Regions from separate parts of the Homo sapiens genome. Here all the other regions are linked to region 1. The links are contacts of gene promoters, found by promoter capture Hi-C in human tissues and cell types (Jung and others, 2019). All regions are on one chromosome and are shown on one strand. Each heading gives the region's core, a stretch centred on a gene start or on the middle of the fragment in contact. The rest is flanking DNA. Distances are from core to core; before and after follow the strand shown.

Region 1 (6,401 bases), core at 1-2,500:
TTGAAGTAATTACTTTTAGAGAGCTTGTTTGGAGGTTCTAGCAGGGGAGTGCAGCTACTCATATACCCTTGCCCAAAGAACGGCCCTCCTCTGTTGGGGAAGGTTGTCCGCAGCGTCTGGAAGGACGCATGTGGACGGATGAGGGAGGAAGGAGACATCCACCTAGCCAGCCAGATCAGACAAATTAACCCTGGCCATCAGTGGGGTGACAGATGTTGCAGCCAGATCACCCTCACATCCGGAAATAATTGCTTTTAAAACGCAATATTTGAAAACCTGAATTTTCTTGGGTAAGCAACTATTATATTGCTAATTTAACGAAACTTTTTTTAAAAATATTAATATACTTAAATTTTAGAGCAATTTTAGAATTGGTTAGAAAGTACAATGTTCCCACAACCCCCCTTCTCTGCACCATACACACAGCTTTCCCCTTTTTTTTTTACTACTTATGTTTGTGTGGTACGTTTGTTATACTTGATGAGCCGGTATCAATGCATGGTTACTAACTAAAGCCCATACTTCACAGTTTACATTACGGTCCATTCTTGGTGTTGTGCATTCTATGAGATTTCACAATGTGCAATTACATATATCCACTTTGATAGTATCATACAGAGCAGTGTTTTTTTTTTTTCTTTGAGATAGGCTCTCATTCTGTCACCCCAGCTGGAGTGCAGTGGCGTGAACACAGGTCACTGCAGCCTCAACCTCCCAGGCTCAGGTGATCCTCCCATCAGCCTCCCAAGTGGCAGAGGAAAAACAAAGGACACTGGGTGTGAGGGAGAGGTGCAAAGTCAGGACCAAGCATCCATGGGAACACAGGGGAGGATGAAGGCACTGAGGTTGGGGAGAGAGAGCAGAGCTATCAGTGTTGAAGGCCGGAAAGGATGAGGGAGTCTGCAGGCTCGGCCCGATCAACTGGTTCCAGCTTCTGTGACCTGCCTGGAGGAAGATGAAACAGGCTCCTCATCCTTATTGGTAAAGATAAACCCAAATCCCATCTCACCTCCCAGCTCTGGTCTTCCCACCTTAGCCACTGCCCACCTCACTCCATCTCTCCTTGCCAAGCCTAGACTGGCTTAGTTTTCACTGCTCTGTGGTCTCACAGTGCCCCGTGGCTATGGCTGTAGATGCACTTACCACTTGTTTTACAGTTGTCTCTTCACGTGGTCATATCTGTCTTGAGTCTCTGCACTCCCAGGGCAGAGGCTGGGTCTCATTCATCCAGCAGCCCCAAGGCCCAGCCCCACTCCTAGCATGTGTCATTGCTTAGTGTTAAGTGACTGTCCATTGTGACATGTGGACATTCTCAAGGTCACATAAGCAGCTATATGATGCTAAGCGATGGGGAATTATCTTGCTGCTTGGTGGGGGGTGGGAGACGGTGGAGGATGATGGAAAAGCATTTTTAAAGAGTGAACATTGAGTAGCTGAGTAGCTACTTTTTTTTCTGCCTCAGCTTGTGGCTGGGACCCCGGGCGCACGCCACCACGCCTGGCTAATTTATGTATTTTTCTCTAGAGATGGGGTTTCGCCATGTTGCCCAGGCTGGCGTGAGTATAATTTTTTTTTTTTTTTGAGATGGAGTCTCACTCTGTCGCCCAGGCTGGAGTGCAGTGGCACGATCTCAGCTCACTGCAAGCTCCGCCTCCCGGGTTCACGCCATTCTCCTGCCTCAGCCTCTTGAGTAGCTGGGACTACAGGTGCCGTGAATGTAATTTTTAATCAGTCAAGTTTTTCCTTCTATAGACATGGGCAAAGTGCAAATAAGAAATTGAGAGAGATAATAGAAGGTACAGCTATGCTCTTTGCACCTGGCCAGATATGGGTAGAAGTGGACCAGGGGCTACCTGGCTGTGCAAATTCTCTCCATGAGCCATGCAGCCGTGCTCCAGACTCCATTCCCCACCCATGGGAGGTCCCTGTGGCAATCACTGAAAATTTTCCTGAAACAGCCATTTCCCCAGAATGCAATCTACTGGGCATTTAAATAGTCTGATTGAGTTAATAACTTGTGAACACCGTGGCAACATATCCATAACATGAAGCTTACCGTGTTAAGCCGTTTTAGGTACACAGTTCTGTGGCATTCAGTACATTCACATTGTTGTGCCACCTGCACTGCCTTCCATCTCCAGAGCTTTTTCATCTTTTCCACCTGAATCTGTGTCCATGAAATAAATTTCTCACCCCCTGTCCCCTGTCAATGGACACCTGGGTTGTTCCTACCTTTTGGCTATTGTGAATAATGCTGTTATGAACATGGATATACAAGAAAGTTAATAATTTTAAGCAGAATTTAATAAATACAGAAGATTCTTCCAATGAGAAAATATTTCAAAAGCCTGCCATTCAAAGGTGTTCTGCAGAGCAACAGCACTGGCTTCACTTGGGCCTTTGCTACTAATGCAGAATCTCAGGCTCTGCCCTGGACCTTTGTTACAGAATCTGCTTTTTTTTTTTTTTTGAGACAGTTTTGCTCTGTCACCCAGGCTGGAATGCAGTGGTGCCATCTCATGTCACTGCAACCTCCCCACCTCCCAGGTTCAAGTGATTCTCCTGCCTCAGCCTCCTGAGTAGCTGGGACTAGAGGCGCCCACCACTATGTCTGGCTAATTTTTGTGTATTTTTAGTAGAGATGGGGTTTCACCATGTTGGCCAGGCTGGTCTCGAACTCCTGACCTCAAGTGATCCACTCGCCTCAGCCTCCCAAAGTGCTGGATTACAGGCGTGAGCTACCTACTGCGCCCGGCCAAGAATCTGCTTTTTAACAAGACCCCCAGGTGACTTATTTGCACCTTAAAGTTTGAGGACTGCTTCAAGACATAGAATCCATGGAGAACAAAAAATGAGTACTTTATTTTTTATTCTTTTTTTTTTTGAGACAGGGTCTTGCTCTGTCATCCAGGCTGGAGTGCAGTAGTACGATCTTGGCTCACTGCAACCTCTACCTCCTGGGCTAAAGTGATCCTCTCACCTTGGTCTCCTGAGCAACGGGGACTACAGGCATGTACCACCATGACCAGCTAATTTTTGTATTTTTTGTAGAGACGGCGTTTTACCACGTTGCCCAGGCTGGTCTTGAACTCCTGGGATCAGGTGATCTGCCCACTTTTGCCTCCCAAAGTGCTGGGATTACAGGCTTGAGCCAACACACCTGGCCCAATAAATGGGCACTTCATCATGAAAAGTTTCGGAATCACTAGCTAGTGGAAGTAAAAGCAGTAACCCATCAAGGCCCTCAAAGTAGGCTAGTTTTAAGCTGAGTACCGCTGGTACAGAGCCCTTGCCCCGCTAAAGGTTGGTGTGAAATGAAGCCTTCCCTGAACACTGCACAGCAGCAAGGGAGGATGGGAGTCCACAGTGATGTAACCACCACATGGCTCTGTATTTCAATAGAGGCTGAGGCTAGGGTGCACCTCCCTCTCTCCTCCATCTCTTGTCTGATGAGACCCACCTGGGACCAGGAGATTGAGTTCCTACTGGGGAATGAGCTTTCAAAACAGCTCCTCAATTAAGGCAGGTTTGTCTATAGTTAATCAGCTACTAAGAGAATGAAATTTCTCCGAATGTTTATATTTGAAATTTATGGTTCTTTTCAAAGAAGTTACTGTGGTCTTTTATTTGAAGGAAATACAGCAAATTTCCCCCAGATTTGAATATGGGACAATAACTCCCTAAATGTGTTGAAACTCTTTCCCTAAGCTCTTGCTTTGATTGATAATCCATTAACATATTATCCCTTTTTGCACAAGAAAATGGCTAAAAGGGACAAGAATTACAACGTATGAAACGTCTACCCTTAGCAGGATGCCATTTATGTGTAGTTAGCTCATCACATCCCCCCAAATTCTGAGACTGTTTTACAGAAGGTTACATGGCTACAAAATGACAGGAACCATGATTCAAATCCAGGCATATCTCACCCCAAACCTACACCTTTCCAGGCCAGCCTCCCAGCCTGCACTGAGCTCAGGTGAGCTGTATTTGGGTTTATTCTGGGTCGATGCTGTGTCTGGCCCATGCCACGTCTGCTCTAAGGCTCAAATGAGACACTGATGTTGCTTACAGCTCAGCTTAGCACAGGCTTTTCCATTTCCTGATTTCTCAGGTATCAAAACATGACAAGAAAGGCCATTTTTTTTTTGAGGTATTTCCTGCTGAGTGAAACCTAGGAAATACTGGAAATCTTAGGGACATCTGATCTTGTAGGGATTGTTCCCAACCCTTTCCTGTTTGAGAAAAAAAAAATCATTCTGGTGGGTCCGGTGACAGAGGGCTGGGAGGCGCCCTGCAACAATGAAGCACAGCAGGCCTCTGTCCTCATGGCCTGATTCATTCAATTTAGCATCCTGATGTGGAAGAGTGGGCTTATAACTGATCATGAAAAGCCTGAAGTCTGCTGCTAAGCGACAGATCTGCTGGCCTACACATCACCCAGGGGCACTACCAAATCGCCTAACACAATGACCAGTGTTTGTGAGTAGAATGTGGATGAATGTGGTGCAACAGACAGAACCTTCCTGGTGAGGGCTAAGGCTTGCATGACATGGTGTGACATGGCCGTAGGATGGAGCCATTTTGCAAAAATAATTCTGACCTGCCCGATGCTAAACGAACACTGAAGAAGCAATTGCGTTCCTGTCTCCAAGATCCTTTCAATATTGTACAAGAGACAAGAACCAAAACCAATGAACAGTACAAGTACTGCCTGTACAAATAGAAATGAGTCACAGAACACTGGCTGATGAGGTTGGGCTACGGATAGAGTACCATCCTTTCTGCCTCCTAAGCCTTTCTCTCACGGGTCCCTGCTCAGGTCCTATTATAGCGGGCTTTGCAGTAGCTTCTTCCTGTCCTCATCAGCCAGCCTAGTCCAGGCCATGGAAACACTTCCAAATGCAATTTTCTAATGAGTGCCCCTAAACACTTTCAGTGGCCCCAAGGCCTACAGAACTTGCAGAAAGCCCAAACGCCCCAGGCATCTACCTTGCCCTCCAGCCTTACTGCTCCTCTCCGGGCCTCATTCTCCGGAGTGCTTAGCTTCACTGTGTTTTTATTATTACTTTTTATTATACTTTAAGTTCTAGGGTACATGTGCACAACGTGCAGGTTTGTTACTTATGTATACATGTGCCGTGTTGGTGTGCTGCACCCATTAACTCGTCATTTACATTAGGTATATCTCCTAATGCTATCCCTCCCCCACGACAGGCCCTGGTGTGTGATGTTCCCTGCCCTGTGTCCAAGTGTTCTCATTGTTCAATTCCCACCTATGAGTGAGAACACGCCCTCTGTGTTTTTTCAACCCTCTTTAGTACTGTTCACTGTCTTCCCTCTTCCCCAAATCTCTTTCAACTAGGCGCAGGGGTCATAACCTGTAGGCTACCTTTTTAGAAGCGCACTCCGTTGGTTCTATCAGGACACGCAGTATGGCCTAACAGCTGGGAGCACAGCATCTGGAGCCATAGACACAGGGTACGATTCTGACTTGGCCACCTTAGCTATTTTATTTAAGCTGTGTTTTGGTTTATCTATGAAAAAGACAGTAGTCAGACCTGCATTCTCGATTGCTGAGATGATGTTTATTAGAACACTTCCTGGCATGCAGTGAGCATGCCATCACCACCAGCTGCTCACAACACTTACCATGGTGATCGATGCTCTTCGCTGGTGTCTCATTTGCCGACTTGAAGCTCTCTGAGGTTGGGACTGTCTTTGATGACCTGTGAAAGCTCAGGGCTAGTGGAGAGTCAGTGCTCACTACTGTGCCTGAGTGAACAGCTGAGAACCTTCTTGGAGGAGGTTCACATAAAAGCTCAGATGACAGAGGGAAAAGCACTCCAGGTAGTGATAATGCTCTCGTCCTAAGGACATGAGGAACCTGCTTGGGGGATGGATGACCCTCATGGGGAACAAGGAGGAAAAAGAGGCTAGCAAAGCCAGGGAGATGAGAGACACCTGAGATGGTCTCTCCAGGGCTGTGTGGAGAATCAGCAGCTAGGACTCTGGACGAAACAGTGTCAGGTAGGGAGGACGCCTGGTGACAGGCAGCCTAGGCAAAAAAGACAGTCATTTTTTTATTGGCTTTAGCAGCTGCTGTCCCAAACCCTCTCCCCTCAATAATAAAAGGCAATTTTATGATCACAAAGAGGCCACATTTTTTTTAATTGACAACTCAATCTCTACATACATACAGTGTTGCACGAATTATAAGTGGATCAACAATTATATTATTGATACAAACTCATGAGCATTTACATAAAACTACCGCTCTAGGTTTTGGTGTGTTTTGTGTCAGCTACTTTAGTGAATAAACGAAACATAAAGGAACTCAGCTACTTGAATTCATGAGAATCAGCTTTCAAAAAAAGCATATATATCATCTCATAGAATAC
Region 2 (6,401 bases), core at 1,946-4,445, 450 kb before region 1:
GATCTGATGCACTCTTGCTACTGGAATCTTGACTTGCAGGACCATCCCTACTTCATTGCCTGGAGGTCGAACCCCAAGTTGCAGGGAACCCAAGCTACCAGGTCCCACTGCCCTTTTCCACTCCAGGGACCTCTAACTGCTCTCCGCGACGCAGGTGATCCTGCCTTGCTGCGGGGGAGTGGCCTGGAGTCTCATTCCCTCGGGAGGCCTCCCTCCTTCCACCCGCTTGAGGAGAGCCCTTCTCTTCCCTGTGACCCCGAAGACCGTGGCGCCGCCGCCCACGTGAGGCGTTTGGACCCTGCCCGGCCCCCGTAGCTCCCTTTCTCCAGCAGGTGGTTCTGGTCCTCTCCCCCAACTCGGGCGCTCACGTCACCGGCGAACCTCTAACCAGCGCCAGCGCCGCTACCAACCGGGAAAATAAACAAACCCCCGCGCTCGGCGGACGCGCCAGGCCCCGCCCCCGCCCCGAGGCTCTCACGCCGCCCCCTCCGCCCGGGCTTCCCGCTACCCTCCGCCCGCCTGCTCGCAGCTGCGCTCTTCCCGCCCCTCACCGCGGCCTGCAGCCGCGCTCACCGCCGCAGTCCGCCCCGGCGCCCCGGGACCCGTTAGTGCCCAGCCTGTGGGCCGACCGCGACCCCCGCCCGGCGCGAGCCTGCCCCCAGCTCTGCCGACACTTGACCCAGACCAGTCCCAACGCCCAGTGCGGCCGCCTGGGGAGCCGCGGGAGAGGCGGCGGCGGGGGGAGGAGGGAGAGGAGGGCCGAGCCGGCGGCCCGGGAGGCCCGGTGAGTACGCGGAGGCGGGCCCGCCTCGCGGGTGTCCGCTCCGGAACCCCGGAGGCGTAAGCAGCGGCTCGACAGCGCTCCCCTCGGCTCCTAGGGTGGCGGGGACTCGGCCTGAGGCGACGGGCCCCACTGGCCGGAGCCGCTGGGCAGAGGGCACGGGAGGGCCGCTCCGCGGAAGGGGCCGCGGCCCTACGCTCGGCGCAAGGCTCGGGGCGGCGGGGAGGGACTCGCACCCGACTCCCAGGCCGGCGACCGCTGAGCCTCCCGAGACTCCGTGGGGGCCGCTCGAGTGACAGGTGCCACCGTCCCCTCACCGCCGCTGGCGCCCGCACTCCCTCCCGGGGAGCCAGGCGCTCGGAAATTTCTGGAGCAACGACCTGACTCGTTGTTTTCTCCCTTTCAGGTTTTGAAGCCGCTTCTCTGGCCGAGTTAGGTTTCGCCCAGCGCAATTTCTTTCTCTATGTACTTTGCGAATAAGTTTCGGAGCATCGGTTAACAGCCTATGGGTGAAATTTGGCTTTCATTCATGAATGAGGTATAGTGAATTACTTTTTGAATATAGTGCTCCTCGTCCTCCCCCGCCAGCTATTGAAAAGTGATTTTTTTTTCTGTTATTGTTTGGAACAGCCTTACCGAATTTTTGTCAGATTTCGAGCATTAAGGTGCTTCATAAATATTGAACAGTAACGACAAAAATAGTTTATCAAATTGGCTGATTGCCTTTTCTCTTCCTCCTCTTTTTCACTCTTTACCTTCGCCAGATTTTTCAGAGTAGATGCTAATGCTTTCATTAGAAGGACTAATGAAAGATCGTCTGTCTTACACTAAAAAGCTGGAGACACTTTTCTTCAACATTTAGCATTGCCTGTTGTGTAGTAAATGTGCTTGGGATTGTAACTGGAATCACTTAATAAATGTGACTTGTAGCTATAAAAATATTTGAGAAGCTTTTTGGCAAATTAAAATATTAAAGATCTTCATACAAATCTAGATTTCTTTTCTCAACAGATTTATAACACTATAGTAGCTTCAATTCTGGAGTAAGAGCAAAACCCAGAAGTTGACCAAAAGAACCTTGTGTGAAAATAGATGTATTTTACTCGTGGGAGAATCCCTCAGGTCCTCACTGAGTACCTGCTTGTATTTTTTTGTTTAACTTTCTTGGCCTACAGAAAGTGGGAGCTGCAGATTGGAGAGGGGTCTCAGTACTTAACTGTGAGGAAAAAATGGAGTTTGGGGCATACCCATTGGGTTTACATCACTTACAGTAAGTGTGTTTGGAGCAGAGTTTTAGTATGCACTTCACACTTGCTGATTGTGAACTGTATTTTTTTTTTTCCCTGAGGCGGAGTTTTGCTCTTGTTGCCCAGGCTGGAGTGTAATGGCACGATCTCGGCTCACAGCACCTTCTGCCTTCCAGGTTCAAGCAACTCTCCTGCCTCAGCCTCCTGAGTAGCTGGGATTACAGGCGCCTGGCTAATTTTTTTTTTTTTTTTTTGTATTTTTAGTACAGATGGTGTTTCGCCTTGTTGGCCAGCCTGGTCTGGAACTCCTGACCTTGTGATCCGCCCGCCTCTGCCTCCCAAAGTGCTGGGATTACAAGTGTGAGCCACCACACCTGGCCTGTGAACGCTAATTTTTAAGAAGCCAAAGTGAAAGATACTGTTTGGTTATTTGAAGAACAGAACATGAAATAACACAATTTTTTATTTCACCAGGTGTTAAATCAGTGATACTTGGTGCCATTTCATATTACGCTCAGTTAATTTCAATCTAAGTTATATTTCAGTGAGGCCACACTAATTGGCATCTACATTAATACCTTTTTTTGGTCAGGCTAATTGGTAGTGTTAATAGAAGATGGCTATCATTCATCTCATAAAAAGTGATATATTTGGTTGTTCTTGATTTAAGGATTTTATATATATAATTGTGTGTGTGTGTGTGTGTGTGTTTTGAAGCTCCCTAATTGTGGTCTTCTGGACTGAGATATGGCTGCTGCTGTCTGTCTTGATTCTAGTGAGGTCATAGTGTAGAGGGTAAGGTCATAATGGCAATGTGCCTCCAAACCTTGATAGAGGCCAAGACTACCAGCCACTTAGGAATTCTTCTGCTTGGGTCAGGCTTGGTGGTGCATGCCTGTAATCCCAGCACTTTGGGAGGCCGAGGCTAGAGGATTGCTTGAGCTTAGGAGTTTGAGATCAGCCTGGGCAACGTGGTGAGACCCCATGTATACACAAAGAGAAAAAAAAAGAAGTTCTCCTGCTTGTAGCTTAGGCTATTCATTTTTAGAAGAGTTTACGTAAGCAACCGATGCATCCTAATTCTCTTAAATTAACACTTTTGTTTTTTGTTTTTTTGAGACAGTCTCTCGCTCTGTTGCCAGGCTGGAATGTGGTGGCGCAATCTTGGCTCACTGCAACTTCTACCTCCCTGGTTCAAGCGATTCTCCTGCCTCAGCCTCCCGAGTAGCTGGGACTACAGGCGTGCGCCACCACTCGCAGCTAGTTTTTGTATTTTTAATAGAGATGGGGTTTCACTACGTTGGCCAGGATGGTCTCGATCTCTTGACCTTGTGATCCGCCCGCCTTGGCCTCCCAAAGTGCTGGGATTACAGGCGTAAGCCACCATGCCCAGCTGGCGTAAATCAACACTTTAAAACCATATATGCTTCCTAGACAAAATTGGTTGGGGCAGTTAGTTTGTTAGAATAGTACTTACCGTAATGAAACAACTTTGAACTGCTAATAATTGCTCATGCACATCTGCATTATGGGAATTGAGGATTGTCTATTGTGCACTTCACATATTTCTTTTTCTACTTGTAGAGCACATTTTTCACTGCATAGACAGCTGTGTACTTGAAGAATGTAAACATGAAGAAAACACTGAGTTCAATAAATGTGTCTTCTATGTGCCAGGTCCTGTGGTATTTGTAAGGGATAGAAACTTGTCTTTCAGGATCTTGAAATCAGGATCATAGGGCTAGACACAACAATAAAGAGAATTTTTTTGGAGTCCATTCAATAATAGTAAGTTTAAAGTATGGAAATATTACCGAGGAGGGAATGTTTGACTTCAGGAACAGGTCAGAGAACGCTTCACAGATATGCTAGCACCTGAGCAGGATTTTGAGGAATAAATGGAAGTTTTCAGTGGAAGAGATAGATGGCATTGTAGATAAAAGAGAACAGCATAGTTAAAGATATGAACAAGTAAACTGTGTGTTCAAGAAATTTCAAGTTGTTTTTTCTTGGAGTACATGCAAAATCTGAAGAAAGAGGGTTGCTAGAGAAAGCCCTAACGCATGCTATTACATTTAATAAGTCAAATAGTTGGCTTTTTGGGTATGAAGTATATGTAAAATAGAGACTGTTATATTTTTGACACTGCTGCCATCTTTTTTTTTTCTTTTTCTTTTTTGACAAAGAGTCTCAGGCTGTCACCCAAGGTGTAGTGCAGTGGCACAATCACTGCTCACTACAGCCTCGACCCCCAGGCTCAGGTGATCCTCCCACCTTAGCCTCTCAAGTAGCTGGGACCACAGTCGTGCACCGCTATGCCTGCTAACTGTTGTACATTTTGTAGAGAAGGGGTTTTGCCATGTTTCCCTGGCTGATCTTGAACTCCCGGGCTCAAGCAATCTGCTGCCCACCTCAGCCCTTCCAAAGTACCAGGATTACAGGCATGAACCACCATGTCTGGCCTGCTGCCATCTTAAGTATAAATTAATAGTTTTTACTAGTGGTAGTCATTACATTATGGAAGAGAGTAGAAGATATATTTATGGTGAACTGCCTGCATATTGAGAATGTGTGTTTATTTCACATTTTGCCCTGAAACATTTCTGTTTTTAAAATTATCTTGTGAATTTATTTTGTCTTCCTTCAACTATGCATTATCCTTGAAATTAGTTTTATCATTTATTTTATGAGATAGGGTTTTGCTATGTTGCCTGGGCTGGTCCCAAACTCCTGGACTTAAGTGATCTCATGCTTCAGTCTCCCAAGTTGCTAAAATTACAGGTGTGCACCACTGAGCCAAGATATCCTTGAAATTATTTTTCAAAGGAACTCAAAGGGAAGAGGGGGAAAATGTAAATAAAATAATCATTAGATTTCTGCACCAAAAACCTGATTTGTGTAGTATTTTAATAATATGTAAATGTTTAATATACAGTATTAGCCACCATATTCATAGACTAATGTATGTAACTTAATTGGCAGTCCATTGTATTTTCATTTGCATTGTATGCCTTAATTATATTATGTGTATATAAATGTCTGAGCATAGAAGCATCTAAATTTTAAAGACCAAGTGTATTTGAAAGAGAAAAAGTATAGAGAGGGAGGGAGAAGAGCTGTGTTTGAATCTATTTATCCTAACATCTCTTAGATGTGACTGTATGTGGAGATGCAGAAGTTTAGGACACAAGACTGAAGGAATACTAACCCTAGCCATGACCTGAAATATAGTATCTTTTAAAAGCCTAATGTTTTCGTAGTCTTCCTATTTATTTCTTCTTATCAAGATTAAAAAAAAAAGTTACGGAGGAATTCCCGGATTGCAAAACATGACTATCTTTTTGAAAATTCTGAAAAATTAGTTAACGAGGATAATGTTCTCTTAAAAGTATGCAACATATTAGTCTTCGATAGTTGCTCTCTGTCATTTGACTTGTCCATCACTGATGTGAATGGCCAAAGGCGTCTCATTGTCAATTCTGACCTGTAGTTGCCCTTTCTAAATTTTGACACAGGGCAAAAAAATCAATATTGTATTGATTACATTATGCTTAACTTTTTCAACTTGAGTATAGATAACCATTTTTTCTTTTTGAGATTTTTTTTTTTTAAGAACTAATATCATTGTAGAGCCGGGCATGGTGGCTCATTCCTGTAATCCCAGCACTTTGGGAGGCTGAGGTAGGAGGATTGCTTGAGCCTAGGGGTTCAAGACCAGCCTGGGCAACATGGCAAAACCCTGTCTCTGCAAAAAATTAGCCAGGCATGGTGTCACGTGCCTGTAGTCCCAGGTACTCCGGAGGCCAAGGTGGGAGAATCACCTGAGACCAGGAAGTTGAGGCTGCAGTGAGCCGTGATCACACCACTGCTCCAGCCTTGGTGTGGGAGTAAGACCCTGTCTCAAAAAAAAAAATATGTGTGTGTGTGTGTGTGTGTGTGTGTGTGTGTGTATGTGTATATATATGTATGTGTGTATATATATATGTATATAGTCATTGTAGAATATTTGGGGAAATAGTAAAAACTATAGAAAGGAAAATAAGCATAGTGAGTAATCCCATGCATTTCTTTCTTCATTTTGGTATGTGTATGAATAATAGACATATTTACAAATTGGGGATTATTTTCATATTAAGTTTTATTCCCTTCTTTCATTTAAAATTACATTTCCTTCTCTTCTACTTCTGAAGTACTGGTCATTGTACCTTTTGACATAGCATGTAGATTTCTGTCAAGGCTGTTGAAGTAGATGATGTGTTGATATGTTGGCTATTTTTTTTTTAAGTATAGCATAGCTCAGATGATTGAACCCTTCCAGTTGTTTCATCTCCTATCCCCTTAGCTGCAGATTAAGTAGTGCTATTTTTTGTCTT
Region 3 (6,401 bases), core at 1,959-4,458, 430 kb before region 1:
GGCGTGAGCCACCATGCCTGTCCTATTCTTGGATGTCTTCTTCCCCTAAAAACCATATTTAGTAGAATCTTCCTGGAGATCCTGCCAGAGGAGGGAATTTCCTAGCAGCTAGGAAAGTAAGATGGCTTTAGTCATTCAAATAGCAGCCTACAGGAGGCAGCAAATCTTGCATCTTTATAGCCCCTGTCCTGGCATTCCTGCATGGTTGAAGAAATTGTTTTTGTTTTTGTTTTTTTAAGAAGAAACTATATATGGTAGCTTATGGTCTTATTAGATAATTCAGTACAGTTTATCTCTTCTGGATAAAATTCAGACTGATGTTTTGAGCTCCTTTATCTTATGGAATACAATTATTGAATGTTTTCATCTTTTATCAAAGAGTTACAAAAATAATACATGCTTCTTTGTAAAATATCAAGCAGAATAGAAGTATATACACTTCACTATCACTCTTGATAAACTTGATCAAAATACTTCATATCTGATATCAATGCTGAAAAAATTTTGGAAGGATGTTACAAATGATCTTAAATTACAGTATGTCTTACATAATGTCCCACTCACAAGTAAAGTGCATTTGTTTGACATATTTCTTTAGAATCTCTGTATGAAGCAGTGATGTCCATGCTTGCTGCCACACAATTAGTACACGTGGGAAGCTTTTTAAAAATACTGATTTCTGGGTCCTACTTCACAGGGATTCTGATTTAATTGGTCTGAGATGGTACCTGGGCATTGGCACTTTCTTTTTTATAAAGCTACCAGGTGATTTGCATCTGCATTCAAGAACCATAGTGCTAACTTATAGCCTAACATTGGAAAAATTTAATGAAAGTTTTACTATGACTTACAGGACTTTAAATGAACTGGGTTGTTTAAAAAGCGTCATGATGGAAATAATGAAACTGAAATGATTATTTTTTAAAGAAATAGTGATGTGACAGTATCTGAGTAAAGAGGAATTATGGCAATATAATTTGAGCATGAAATCAGGAGCTTTCCTTCTCTGATTCAATTCCTAAGTCCACCTACTTCTCTTTGAAATATTTTTGGATATAGGCCGGGTGCGGTGGCTCACGCCTGTAATCCCAGCACTTTGGGAGGCCGAGGCGGGTGGATCACGAGGTCAGGAGATCGAGACCATCCTGGCTAACACGGTGAAACCTCGTCTCTACTGAATATACAAAAAAATTAGCCGGGCGTTGTGGCGGGTGCCTGTAGTCCCAGCTACTCGGGAGGCTGAGGCAGGAGAATGGCGTGAACCCAGGGGGCGGAGCTTGCAGTGAGCCAAGATCGCGCCATTGCACTCCAGCCTGGGGGACAGAGCGAGACTCCGTCTCAAAAAAAAAAAAAAAAAAAAGATCCCACTTGCGTCTCTTACTTCCTTCTTTCTACCCTCCCCTTTCATATTGCTTCCTGCTCACAATTCATACCCTTCTTGGCTCCTCTTCCTTTCTCCTTCGGTTAAAGTGTATTTTAATTTGTTATATTTATTAAATAGAACTCGGTGGATCTGGTTGTCAATTTAGAGACTGAAAATAAACTTGTTTCAGAAATAAAACTTAAGTTATCTTTTACTGAGTTTTTCTCCCTTTGTCGGTCAGTAGTTCTTGAAAGAAAAAATTACTTCATCTCTTGTGTTTGGAGTATAGGTTTTTAAAAAAACCAACAAATTAGCATATTTATTAATGTTTAAGGAATGTAGGCATGTACATGTATACATGTTATATGTACATGTATTGAGTTCAGATTTACATTTCCCCGCTTTTCATTCAGAAACTATTGTGTGAAGATTGTATGTCGTGGGAATAGTGGAGGACAGGACACACCTAGTTACTGCTTGCTTGGGTGGAGTTTGCAAGCTAGTGAGCAAATGAATGGTCCTTCAGTTGTTCCTGAGATAACATGGTTCCCAGCTTCCATGGTTCTGTCCATTTTTCAAAATAGGAAAACTTAAAAAGATAGCTTTTTAGTTAAAAAGGAAATATAGTTAAGTATATTTCCTTTTTTTTAGGCTCTAAGCTTATTTCTCTATCTAGCTAGAAATATTTCCTCAAAGCCTTTTTACATGTAATATTATAAAGAAGGCATTTGTATTATCCTCTGTTGCAGCAGTGCTCAAGTTCTCAAACTTTTTGATCACAGGATGACTTCTTTACACTTTTAAAGCGAGATCCCTCAAAGAGCTTTTGTTTATGTGGGTTATATCTATTGATATTTACTGTGTTAGAATTAAAACTGAAAAAATCTAAGCTATTTATTCATTCAAAACTAACAGTAACCCAATTACATGTTAATATAAAGGGCATTTTTAATGAAAAATATTTTCTAACAATTTTTTTTTTTTTTGAGATGGAATCTTGCTCTCTCGCCAGGCTGGAGTGTGGTGGCGTGATCTTGGCTCACTGCAACCTCCGCCTCCCAGGTTGAAGCAATTCTCCTGCCTCAGCCTCCCGAGTAGCTGGGACTATAGGCACATGCCACCATGCCCAGCTAATTTTTGTATTTTTGTAGAGACGGGGTTTCACCATGTTGGCTAGGATGGTCTCCATCTCTTACCTCATGATCCGCCCGCCTCGGCCTCCCAAAGTGCTGGGATTACAGGCATGAGCCACCGTACCTGGCCAACACACAAAAAATTTTAGTAAGAGTAGAATTCCTTTACATTTTTGCAAATCTCTTTAACATCTGACCTAATAACAGAAAGTTGGATTTTCATATCTGCTTCAGTATTCAGTTTGTTGCAATATGTTTTGGTTGAAGTTTGTAAAGAAAATTCAGCCTCATAATTGCATAGTTTGAAGGGAGGAGTATTTCACTGATTTTTTCAGATAATTGTGGATGTTCTTCTTTCCTATTACACCAAACTCAACAAGCAGAAATTTCTAGTTACTTGAAATATGAGATTTGAAACTATCTTGTTACATTAAGATCGGTACATTAAAATGTACTAGTCTCAGCCAGCACAGTGGCTCATGCCTGTAATCACAGCACTTTGGGAGGCTGAGGCTGGAGGATTGTTTTGAGCCCAGGAGTTTGAGACCAGTCTGGGAAACAAAATGAGACCTGTTTTACAAAAAATCAAAAAACTAGCCAGGCATGGTGGCATACGCCTGTGGTCCCACCTACTCGGGAGGCTTAGGTGGGAGGATTACTTGAGCCCAGGAGTTCAAGGCTGCAGTGAGCTATGATTGCACCACTGCACTCCAGCCTGGGTGGCAGAGTGAGACCCTGTCTCTAAAAATAAATGAATAAATAAATAATAGCATAAAAACAGGTAAGGTAATACTTCTTAAATCTTTTTTTTAGTTCTTTTTTTTTCTGAAAGGTAATAACTGTCTAGGTAGAGCAGGCCCTTCCTCATTAGTATAAGAAACTGGTGGAACAGGAAGTACTGGTAATTGGAAGCTTGAATGTTGGGACACATATAGGAGTTGGTTTATATAGGAGTTGTGATATAGATATATATATATATATATATATATATATATATATATATATATATATATATATATATATATATATATATATATCAATCACAGTTTCTTTATCCATTCGTTGATTGATAGGCATTTGGTTTGGTTCCACAATTTTGCAGTTGCGAATTGTGCTGCTGTAAACATGCGTGTGCAAGTATCTTTTTTGTATAATGACTTCTTTTCTTCTGGGTAGATACCCAGTAGTGTGGGATTGCTGGATCAAATGGTAGTTCTACTTTTAGTCCTTCAAGGAATCTCCACACTGTTGTTCATAGTGGCTGTACTAGTTTACATTCCCACTAGCAGTGTAGAAGTGTTCCCTGATCACCGCATCCACACCAACATCTTATTTAGTGAGATTTTTAAAATGCCAAGCCAATATGTGGAATGAGGCTCTCGACAAATAATTTTCTGTTTATTTCATTTAAAAACTACTTTATTATTTACATATCCCAAATGTACTTAAAAATCGGCAAATTTACTAGAAACCAAAAAGTAAAACTGTTTAATCATTTTTAGACATCTTCAAAATATATCTCTTCATAATGAAAGTGTACAAAATCAGCAAATCTGCTTCATTCAAATGCCCTAATGTATTCTTATAACCCTATATGTCAATTTGGAAAATGTGAGCTCTTTGAGTGATCCACGTTAAAATCTCATAGCAGTTCTAGCAAACTTGTAAAAATCTTAGTGAAGGTACTCTAGAACCAAAACAACTAGTTTTTATATACAGGAAGTAAAAATCAGGAAAATCTTCTGTCTTCATGGTAATGAATTCCTGTGTTATAGCAATGGTAGGTTCTCTGAACTCTTTCTGCCTTTCTTAGAAAGAAATCAGAAAAAGTTGAAAATGAAAAAAAATTTATGAGACATCATCAAGCTATAATCAAATCACCATTTTTGTGTTATCATATGGGGTTTCTTGATTATTTTCCATGGTGAATGTCACTTGTGCCTTCTTTCCCCACTAGTGTGTGCTTGCTGCTGATGAAGTAGTATTTAATCAGAAGGAACTGGAGGTTAAGGAACTGAAGAATCAAGTGCAGATGATGGTACAGGAAAACAAAGGGCATGCTGTATCTTTGAAAGAAGCGCAAAAAGTGAATAGACTGCAGGTAGAGTTTCTTAATGCATCTAGCTCTGTAGATTTTCTTGAAATAGTACCTAACTAAACACAGTAGCATTTTAAATGATAAATGGGAACTTAAAAAAAGGATGTTCATTTGAAGACTTCTGAACATAGGCACCTGAGAGAATTATTAATTTTTCCTTTAAATCTGCTTAAATGGAAACATTTTTATTGTTAGCCTGACTTTGGTTTTAGAAATATAAAGATAATACCCAGGAAATTAATTTATAAATCATACCATGGTTATTTTTCCATACTTTTCCTTCCTGTTGTTTGCCAAGGTATTAGGAAATGCAGTATTGTTAGGAGTTGGATGGTAAATACATAATTTAAACTTTAAAATGTATTAAATTATCCTCTTATACCTCGTGAGTGGTTTGCTTTTTAACTTTGCTTACATCTTTCAAATTTTCTATCTTAGCTTTCCTATTATATTAACATGGATATGTCTACAGTATAACATAGTATGCCTCTACATATTATACTCCCTGGCTGTGGCTTCTCCCATCACCCCAAATAGTTAATATCATTTAAAGCCTTTAGCTTCCTATCAGGGAATAACTAATGCTCCGAGAAATAATCTGATCCAGCACACATCAGATTTTGATTTTCATGTTGTTTGATTTTTGTTTTCTTTTTTAACCCTTCTAATTGTATTTTGTTGTTGTTTGTTTTTGTTGTTGTTTTGTTTGTTTTGAGACAGGATCTCATTCTGTTGCTCAGGCTGGTGTGCGCTGGCACAATCACAGCTCACTGCAGTCTCGACCTTCCAGGCTCAAGTGATCCTCCCGCCTCAGCCTCCTAACTGTGACCACAGGTGCATGCCACCGCGCCCGGCTAATTTTCTGATTTTTTTGTGGAGACGGGGTCTCACTGTGTTGCTCAAGCTGGTCTCGAACTCCTGGGCTCAGTGATCCTACCACCTCAGCTTCCCAAAGTGCTGAGATTGATTACAGGTATGAGCCACCATGCCTGGCCCTAATTGTATAATAATTTAAAAACATAAAACTAAAGTATATACAAAACAATACATATTAATCAGTGATTTATCACAGAGAGAACAGCTGGGTAACCACCACCAGGTCAAGAAATTGCTAACTGCCAGCGCCTCAAAATTTTTAGTGCCTCCTTACAATTATTATTCCTCCCTCTTCCTCAGAGAGCCAGTCTCTTGACTTACATGGTAATCATTTCTTTGCTTTTCTTATGGTTTTACTATCTAAATATGTATCCTTCAACACTACAGTTTAGTTTTTGGAATTTTTATTAATTCAGTATAGCTTATTCAGTATCTCGCTGCTTTTGTTGAACATTATTATGATTCATCCACTTTTTAATTGTAATATTTTTTCTGTAAATTCTAATATTTTATCTGTAATGTGTGACTGTGGTTTGTTTAGTTTTATAGGTACATAGGATTTTATTGTATGACTATACCACAATTTATTTTCTGTTCTACTGTTTGATGGACATTTGTGGCTTTCTGTGAAATTTTCTCGTGAATTTTCAGTGTCTCTCGGTGCACATGCACATACATTTCTTTCAGATTTGTGCCTAGGAGTTGAATTGCTAGGCCATAGGGTAGGTATATCTTCAACTTTTGTGGGTGTTACCAAATTGTTTTCCGCTTTATACTCCCACCCAGCATTCTCACTATTCCATGTGAGCATTCTCACTGTTCCATATGCTTCTCAACATTTGTTATTAATTTTTAAATCTTAGCCAATCTGGTAGGCATGTAGTATCATTTTATTGTGGCTTTAGTTTGCATTTCCCTGATGACTAGTGAG
Region 4 (6,401 bases), core at 2,145-4,644, 410 kb before region 1:
CAGGTAAAGTGGTACCATTTCATTCACAGTGAGCAGAAAAATGATCAGACCTGTATGCACAGCAGTTCTAGAATAGATTGGGCTGGGGAAGAACTTAGTGGTGTCAGCCTAGGCTCTTTGACCAGGCTATCATCGGTTCAAATCCTAGCTCACTCAGTTGCTGGCTGAGAGATTTATTGAGAAAATAAATTTTCTCAAATTTCTCAAAAATTTTACCCTCTCTGAGTCTGTTTATTCTCATCTAAAATGGCCTTAATCCTACTTGTCCCACAGGGCTTTTTTGAAAAAGATGATGATGATCATAATAACAGACGCTTATCTAGTACTATGTGCCAGGCTCTGTTCCGTTGAAATGTTAAGCTGAACCCAAGGCATGGGACATAATTGGAGATTTCCTAGATATTTTAAAAATTAAGATTTTATTTTTTTAGAGCCGTTTTAGGTTCACAGCAAAATTGAAAGGAAGGTGCAGAGATATGCCATATACTCCCTGTCCCTGCACATGTTTAGCCTCTCCTGTTATCAGTATGCCCCAGATTTCCTAGATTTTCAACAATGGATATAACCTATTTTCCGACCTTAAAAAAAAAATCACAGAATTCAGCAATGGAAGGGAACTTAAAGAGCAATTAAACCAAGTTACTCATTATTTATTATTAATTTTTAAGTTGTGGTAAAATATATATAACATAAAATTTACCATTTTAACTTTTTTTCCTTTTTTTTTTTTTTGAGATGGAGTTTCACTCTTGTTGCCCAGGCTGGAGTGCAATGGTGTGATCTCGGCTCAACGCAACCTCCGCCTCCTGGGTTCAAGTGATTCTCCTGCCTCAGCCTCCTGAGTAGCTGGGATTACAGGCGTGCACCACCACGCCCGGCTAATTTTGTATTTTTAGTAGAGATGGGGTTTCTCCATGTTGGTCAGGCTGGTCTTGAACTCCCGACCTCAGGTGATCTGCCCGCCTCAGCCTCCCAAAGTGCTGGGATTACAGGTGTGAGCCACCGTGCCCAACCCATTTTAACTGTTTTTTAAGTGTATAATTCAGTGGCATTAATTACATTCACAATCTTGTGCAACCATCACCACTATCTATTTCCAAAACATTTTCATCACTCCAGACAGACACACTGTAATATTATGGAATAGCTCCTCATTTTCCCCTTCCCCCAGCTCTTGGTAATCTCTAATCTACTTTCTCTATGAATTTGCTTATTCTAGATACTTCATATAAGTAGAATTATACAATATTTTACCTTCTGTGTCAGCCTTATTTCATTTAGCATAATATTTTCAAGGTTTGTCTACATTGCAGCATGTACAAGAACTTCATTCCCTTTTATTGCCAAGTAATATTCCATTGTATGGATATGCCACAGTTCTTTATCCATTCATCCATCAATGGACACTTGAGTTGTTTCTAGCATTTGGCTATTGTGAATAATGCTGCAGTGAACACTGGCATACAAATAAGTCTCTGTTTTCAATTCCTTTGGGTATGTACCTAGGAGTATGTACCTAGGAGTAGAATTTCTGGGTTATATGGTAAATCTGTGCTTAGCTTTCTGAGAAACCACTGTTCTCCATAGCAGCAGCATCATTTTACATTTCCACCAGCAATGTGTGAATGTTCTAATTTCTCCACACTTTTGTCAACACCTGTTTCTTTCCTTTTTTTTTATTATAGTCATCCGAGTAGGTATGAAGTTGTATCTCTTTTTTTTTTTTTTTTTTTTTTTTTTTTTTGAGACAGAGTGTCTGTTGCCCAGGCTGGAGTGCAGTGGCATGATCTCGGCTCACTGAAAGCTCCGCCTTCCAGGTTCACACCATTCTCCTGCCTCAGCTTCCCGAGTAGCTGGGACTACAGGCACCCGCCACCACGCCCGGCTAATTTTTTGTATTTTTAGTAGAGACAGGTTTTCACTGTGTTAGCCAGGATGGATGAAGTTGTATCTCATTGTGGTTTTGGTTTGCATTTCCCTAATGACTAATGATGTTGAGCATCTTTTCATGTGCTTATTGGCTGTTCATAAATCTTCTTTGGAGAAATGTCTATTCAGGTTCTTTGTCCACATTTTAATTTGGTTCTTTGTCTTTGTTGTTGAGTTGTATGAGTTCTTTATATATTCTGACATTAAATTCTATCAGATACATGATTTCCAAATACTTTTTCCTATTCTGTAGGTTTTCTTTATACTTTGATAATATCCTTTGATATGCAGAAATTTTTAGTTTTGTTGAAGTCCAATTTATTTTTTTCTTTTGTTGCTTGTGCTTTTTGGTGTCATGTCTAAGATCCATTGCCTAAATCCAAGGTCATGAAGATTGATGTTTTCTGCTAAGAGTTTTATGGTTTTTGCTTTTATATTTAGGTCATTGGTCCATTTGGGGTCAGTTTTTATATATGGTGTGAAGTAGTGGTCCAGATTTATTCTTTTGCATGTGGAACTCCAGTTGTACCAGTAGCATCTGTTGAAGAGACTGTTCTTTCCTCCATTGAATGGACTTGGCACCCTTATCAAAAATCAGTCAGAGTGGGAAATAGGGAAATGCTGATAGGGGAAACGGGGAGATGTTGGTCAAATGGTACAAAGTTGCAGTTATGTAGAATAAATAAGTGTTTAAAGATCCATACATATAAACCACTACACCCTCACTCACATTCTGTGTGTGTGTGTGTGTGTGTGTGTGTGTGTGATGGAGTTTTGCTCTTGTTGCCCAGGCTGCAGTGCAATGGTGCAATCTCGGCTTACTGCAACCTCCACCTCCCAGGTTCAAGCGATTATCCTGCCTCAGCTTCCCAAGTAGCTGGGATTACGGGCATGCACCACCATGTCCAGCTAATTTTGTATTTTTAACATAGATGGGGTTTCACCATGTTGGCCAGGCTGGTCTCGAACTGCTGACCTCAGGTGATCCACCCACCTTAGCCTACCAAAGTGCTGGGATTACAGGTGTGAGCCATTGTTCCTGGCCACCCTCACATTCTTTGTTTATGAAGTGGAACTTAAATATTCCTGCCAAATCTAAAGCTTTAAAATTTGGCATACCCTTTGATTCACTTACAGGAATTTATCCTAAAGAATTTATCCAAGTGGCATCACATTACCCAAATTCAAACCATACTACAAGGCTATAGTCACCAAAACAGCATAATATTGGTATGAAAATAGGAACATAGACTAATGGAACAGAATAGAGAACCCAGAAATAAAGCCAAATACTTACAGCCAACTGATCTTCGACAAAGCATATGAAAACATAAAGTAGGGGAAAGGACAACCTGTTCAACAAATGGTGCTGGGATAATTGGCAAGCCACGTGTAGGAGAATGAAACTGGATCCTCATCTCTCCTGTTATGCAAAAATCAACTCAAGATGGATCAAAGACTTAAATCTAAGATCTGAAACCATAAAAATTCCAGAAGATAACATTGGAAAAATTCTTTTAGACATTGACTTAGGCAAAAACTTTCATTACAAGAACCCGAAAGCAAATGCAATAAAAAACAAACAAAAATAAATAGATGGGACTTAATTACACCGAAAAGCTTCTGCACAGAGAAAGAAATAATCAGGCTGGGCGTGGTGGCTGATGCCTGTAATCCCAGCACTTTGGGAGGCTGAGGCAAGCGGATCACGAGGCCAGGAGATTGAGACCATCCTGGCTAACATGGTGAAACCCCGTCTCTACTAAAAGTACAAAAAATTAGCTGGGCATGTTGGCAGGCGCCTGTAGTCCCAGCTACTCAGGAGGCTGAGGCAGGAGAATGGCGTGAACCCAGGAAGTGGAGCTTGCAGTGAGCGGAGACCACGCCACTGCACTCCAGCCTGGGCGACAGAGCGAGACTCCATCTCATTAAAAAAAAAAAAAAAAAAATCAGCAGAGTGAACAGACAACCCAGAGCGGGAGAAAATCTTCACAATCTATACCTCCAACAAAAGACTAATATCTAGAATCTACAAAGAACTCAAACAAATCAGTAAGAAAAAAACAAATAATTGCATCAAAAAATGGGCGAAGGACATGAATAGACAATTCTCAAAAGAAGATATACAAGTGACAAACATGGAAAAATGCTCAATATTGCTAATTATCAGGGAAATGCAGATCAAAACCACAATGTAATATCACCTTACTCCTGCAAGAATGGCTGTAATTTAAAAAATCAAAAAATAATAGATGTTGGCATGGATGTGGTAAAAAGGGAACACTTTTACACTGTTGTTGGCAATGTAACCTAGTATAATCACTATGGAAAAGAGTATGGAGATTCCTTAAATAACTAAAAGTAGATATACCGTTTGATCCAGCAGTCTCACTACTGGATATCTACCAGAGGAAAATAAGTTATTATATGAAAAAGACACTTAACACATTACACTTGCATGTTTATAGCAGCACAATTCATAATTGCAAAAATATGGAACCAGTCCAAATGCCCATCAACCAATGAGTGGATAAAGGAAGTGTGGTATATATATACCGTGGAATACTACTCAGCCATAAGCAGCAACCTGGATGCAATTGGAGACTATTATTCTAAGTGAAGTAACTCAGGAGTGGAAAACCAAACATCATATGTTCTCACTTATAAGTGGGTACAGCATACACTGCTAGGGTGATGATGGGTGCACCAAAATCTCATAAATCACCACAAAAGAACTTATCCAGTAACCAAACATCACGCGTTCCCCAAAAACCTACTGAAATGAAAAGGAAGGAAGGAAAGGGAGGGAGGGAGGAAGCAGGGGGCGGGGAAGGGACGGGAGGAGGAGGGAGAGAAAGACAAAGAAAGAGAAAAAAAAAGGGAGGGAGGGAGGCAGAAAGAGAAAATGTGACTGGGCTCAGTGGCTCACGCCTGTAATCGTAGCACTTTGGAGGCTAAGGCAGGATGATCCCTTGAGTCCAGGAGTCTGAGACCAGCCTAGGCAACATAGCAATACCCTGTCTCTACACAAATTTTTTAAAAAATAGCTGGGTATGGTGGCACACACCTGTAGTCCCAGCTACTCAGGAAGCTTAGGCAGGAGGATCCCTTGAGCCCAGGAGTTTGAGGCTGCAGTGAGCTATGATCACCACTGCACTCCAACCTGGACAGTGGAATGAGACCCTGTCTCAACCAAAAATAAATAAGAAAGGAAAAAAATATTTGGGTTCTACTTCTACATATAAACCAGAAATCTTATTAATCATTGCAATTCATATACATGCTTGGATATGCACAGAATATCACTGAAAGCTAAATAAGGAACCGATAATAATGGTTGCCTCTGGAGAGAACTGCGAGGCTATCTGGTGGAGGTGAGAGGGAGACTTATGTTTATTGAATACTATATCATGACTTTAGATTATGTCGTGTACATAGTACCTGCTTGATTTTTTTTTTTAATTTACTTGATTATTTTTAAATTTGTGGCTTTTGGTTTAGCTTTTTTTTTTCTTTTGAGGGAGTTTCGCTCTTGTTGCCCAGGCTGGAGTGCAATGGCGCGATCTCGGCTCACTGCAATCACAGCCTCCCGGGTTTAAGCAATTCTCCTGCCTCAGCCTCCTGAGTAGCTGGGATTACAAGCATGGGCCACCATGCCCGGCTAATTTTTTTGTGTTTTTAGTAGAGACGGGGTTTCTCCACGTTTGGCTGGCTGGTCTTGAACTCCCAACCTCAGGTGATACGCCCGCCTCGGCCTCCCAAAGTGCTGGGATTACAGGAGTGAGCCACCGTGCCCGGCCGTGGTTTAGCTTTTATTCAGCATTTTATATAGGGAAAAAGCTTTTCATGTATAGATTAACCCACAGTCATTTCATATGGTTTGGCTGTGTCCCCACCCAAATCTCATCTCCAATTGTAACCCCTGTAATCCCCACATGTCAAGTGAGGGACCTGCTGGGAGGTGCTTGGATCATGGGGGTGGTTTCCCCCATAGTGTTCTTGTGATAGTGAGTGAGTTTTCAGGAGATCTGATGGTTTTTATAAGTGGGAGTTTTTTCCTGCGCTCTCTCTCTTTTCTCTTTCACGCCATCATGTAAGATGTGCCTTGCTTCCCCTTCATCTTCTGCCATGATTGTAAGTTTCCTGAGATCTCCCAGCCATGCAGAACTGTGAATCAATTAAACCTCTTTCCTTTCTAAATTACCCAGTCTCTGGTAGTATCTTTATAGTGTGAGAATGGACTAATACACATGTATATAGATGAGGAAACTGTTAAAAACCAGTCAAGAGTGGCATTACATTGTGCACTCAAATTAAAAACAGAAATTCCTTTTGAAAGTCATGTGTAGGCCAGGCACAGTGGCTCATGCCTGTAATCCCAGCACTTTGGGAAGCCAAGGCGGGTGGATCACCTGAGGTCAGGAGTTCAAGACCAGCCTGGCCGACATGGTGAAACCTCATCTCTACTAAAA

The links. The method cuts DNA at HindIII sites, captures the fragments that hold promoters and counts their contacts. A contact is called where the count stands out against the background at its distance.
Region 2: a contact is called between a fragment that was not itself captured here and the fragment with the promoter of C9orf153 in region 1, in 1 of the 25 tissues and cell types used here (mesenchymal stem cells).
Region 3: a fragment that was not itself captured here is called in contact with the fragment with the promoter of C9orf153 in region 1 in 2 of the 25 tissues and cell types used here (mesenchymal stem cells and stomach).
Region 4: a fragment that was not itself captured here is called in contact with the fragment with the promoter of C9orf153 in region 1 in 2 of the 25 tissues and cell types used here (bladder and dorsolateral prefrontal cortex).

The regions. Positions count from the first base shown.
Region 1 is chr9:86,258,407-86,264,807 of GRCh38, forward strand. C9orf153 (chromosome 9 open reading frame 153) reads right to left here and starts at 1,251. Exons shown (of 4, transcript NM_001276366.4): 1 at 1,144-1,251. ISCA1 (iron-sulfur cluster assembly 1) reads right to left here. Exons shown (of 4, transcript NM_030940.4): 4 at 6,140-6,401. It also overlaps the pseudogene RN7SKP264. The HindIII fragment of the contact is 6,872 bases long and covers 1-4,820 here.
Region 2 is chr9:85,804,815-85,811,215 of GRCh38, forward strand. It overlaps a transcript of AGTPBP1 not described here and the pseudogene LOC389765. Among named protein-coding and RNA genes, the nearest start is that of AGTPBP1, 66 kb to the left of the region's middle. RefSeq lists silencers at 460-769, 800-1,209. The HindIII fragment of the contact is 9,468 bases long and covers 1-6,401 here.
Region 3 is chr9:85,825,010-85,831,410 of GRCh38, forward strand. It overlaps the pseudogene LOC389765. Among named protein-coding and RNA genes, the nearest start is that of AGTPBP1, 86 kb to the left of the region's middle. The HindIII fragment of the contact is 3,736 bases long and covers 1,341-5,076 here.
Region 4 is chr9:85,849,929-85,856,329 of GRCh38, forward strand. No RefSeq gene overlaps it. Among named protein-coding and RNA genes, the nearest start is that of NAA35, 88 kb to the right of the region's middle. The HindIII fragment of the contact is 4,000 bases long and covers 1,395-5,394 here.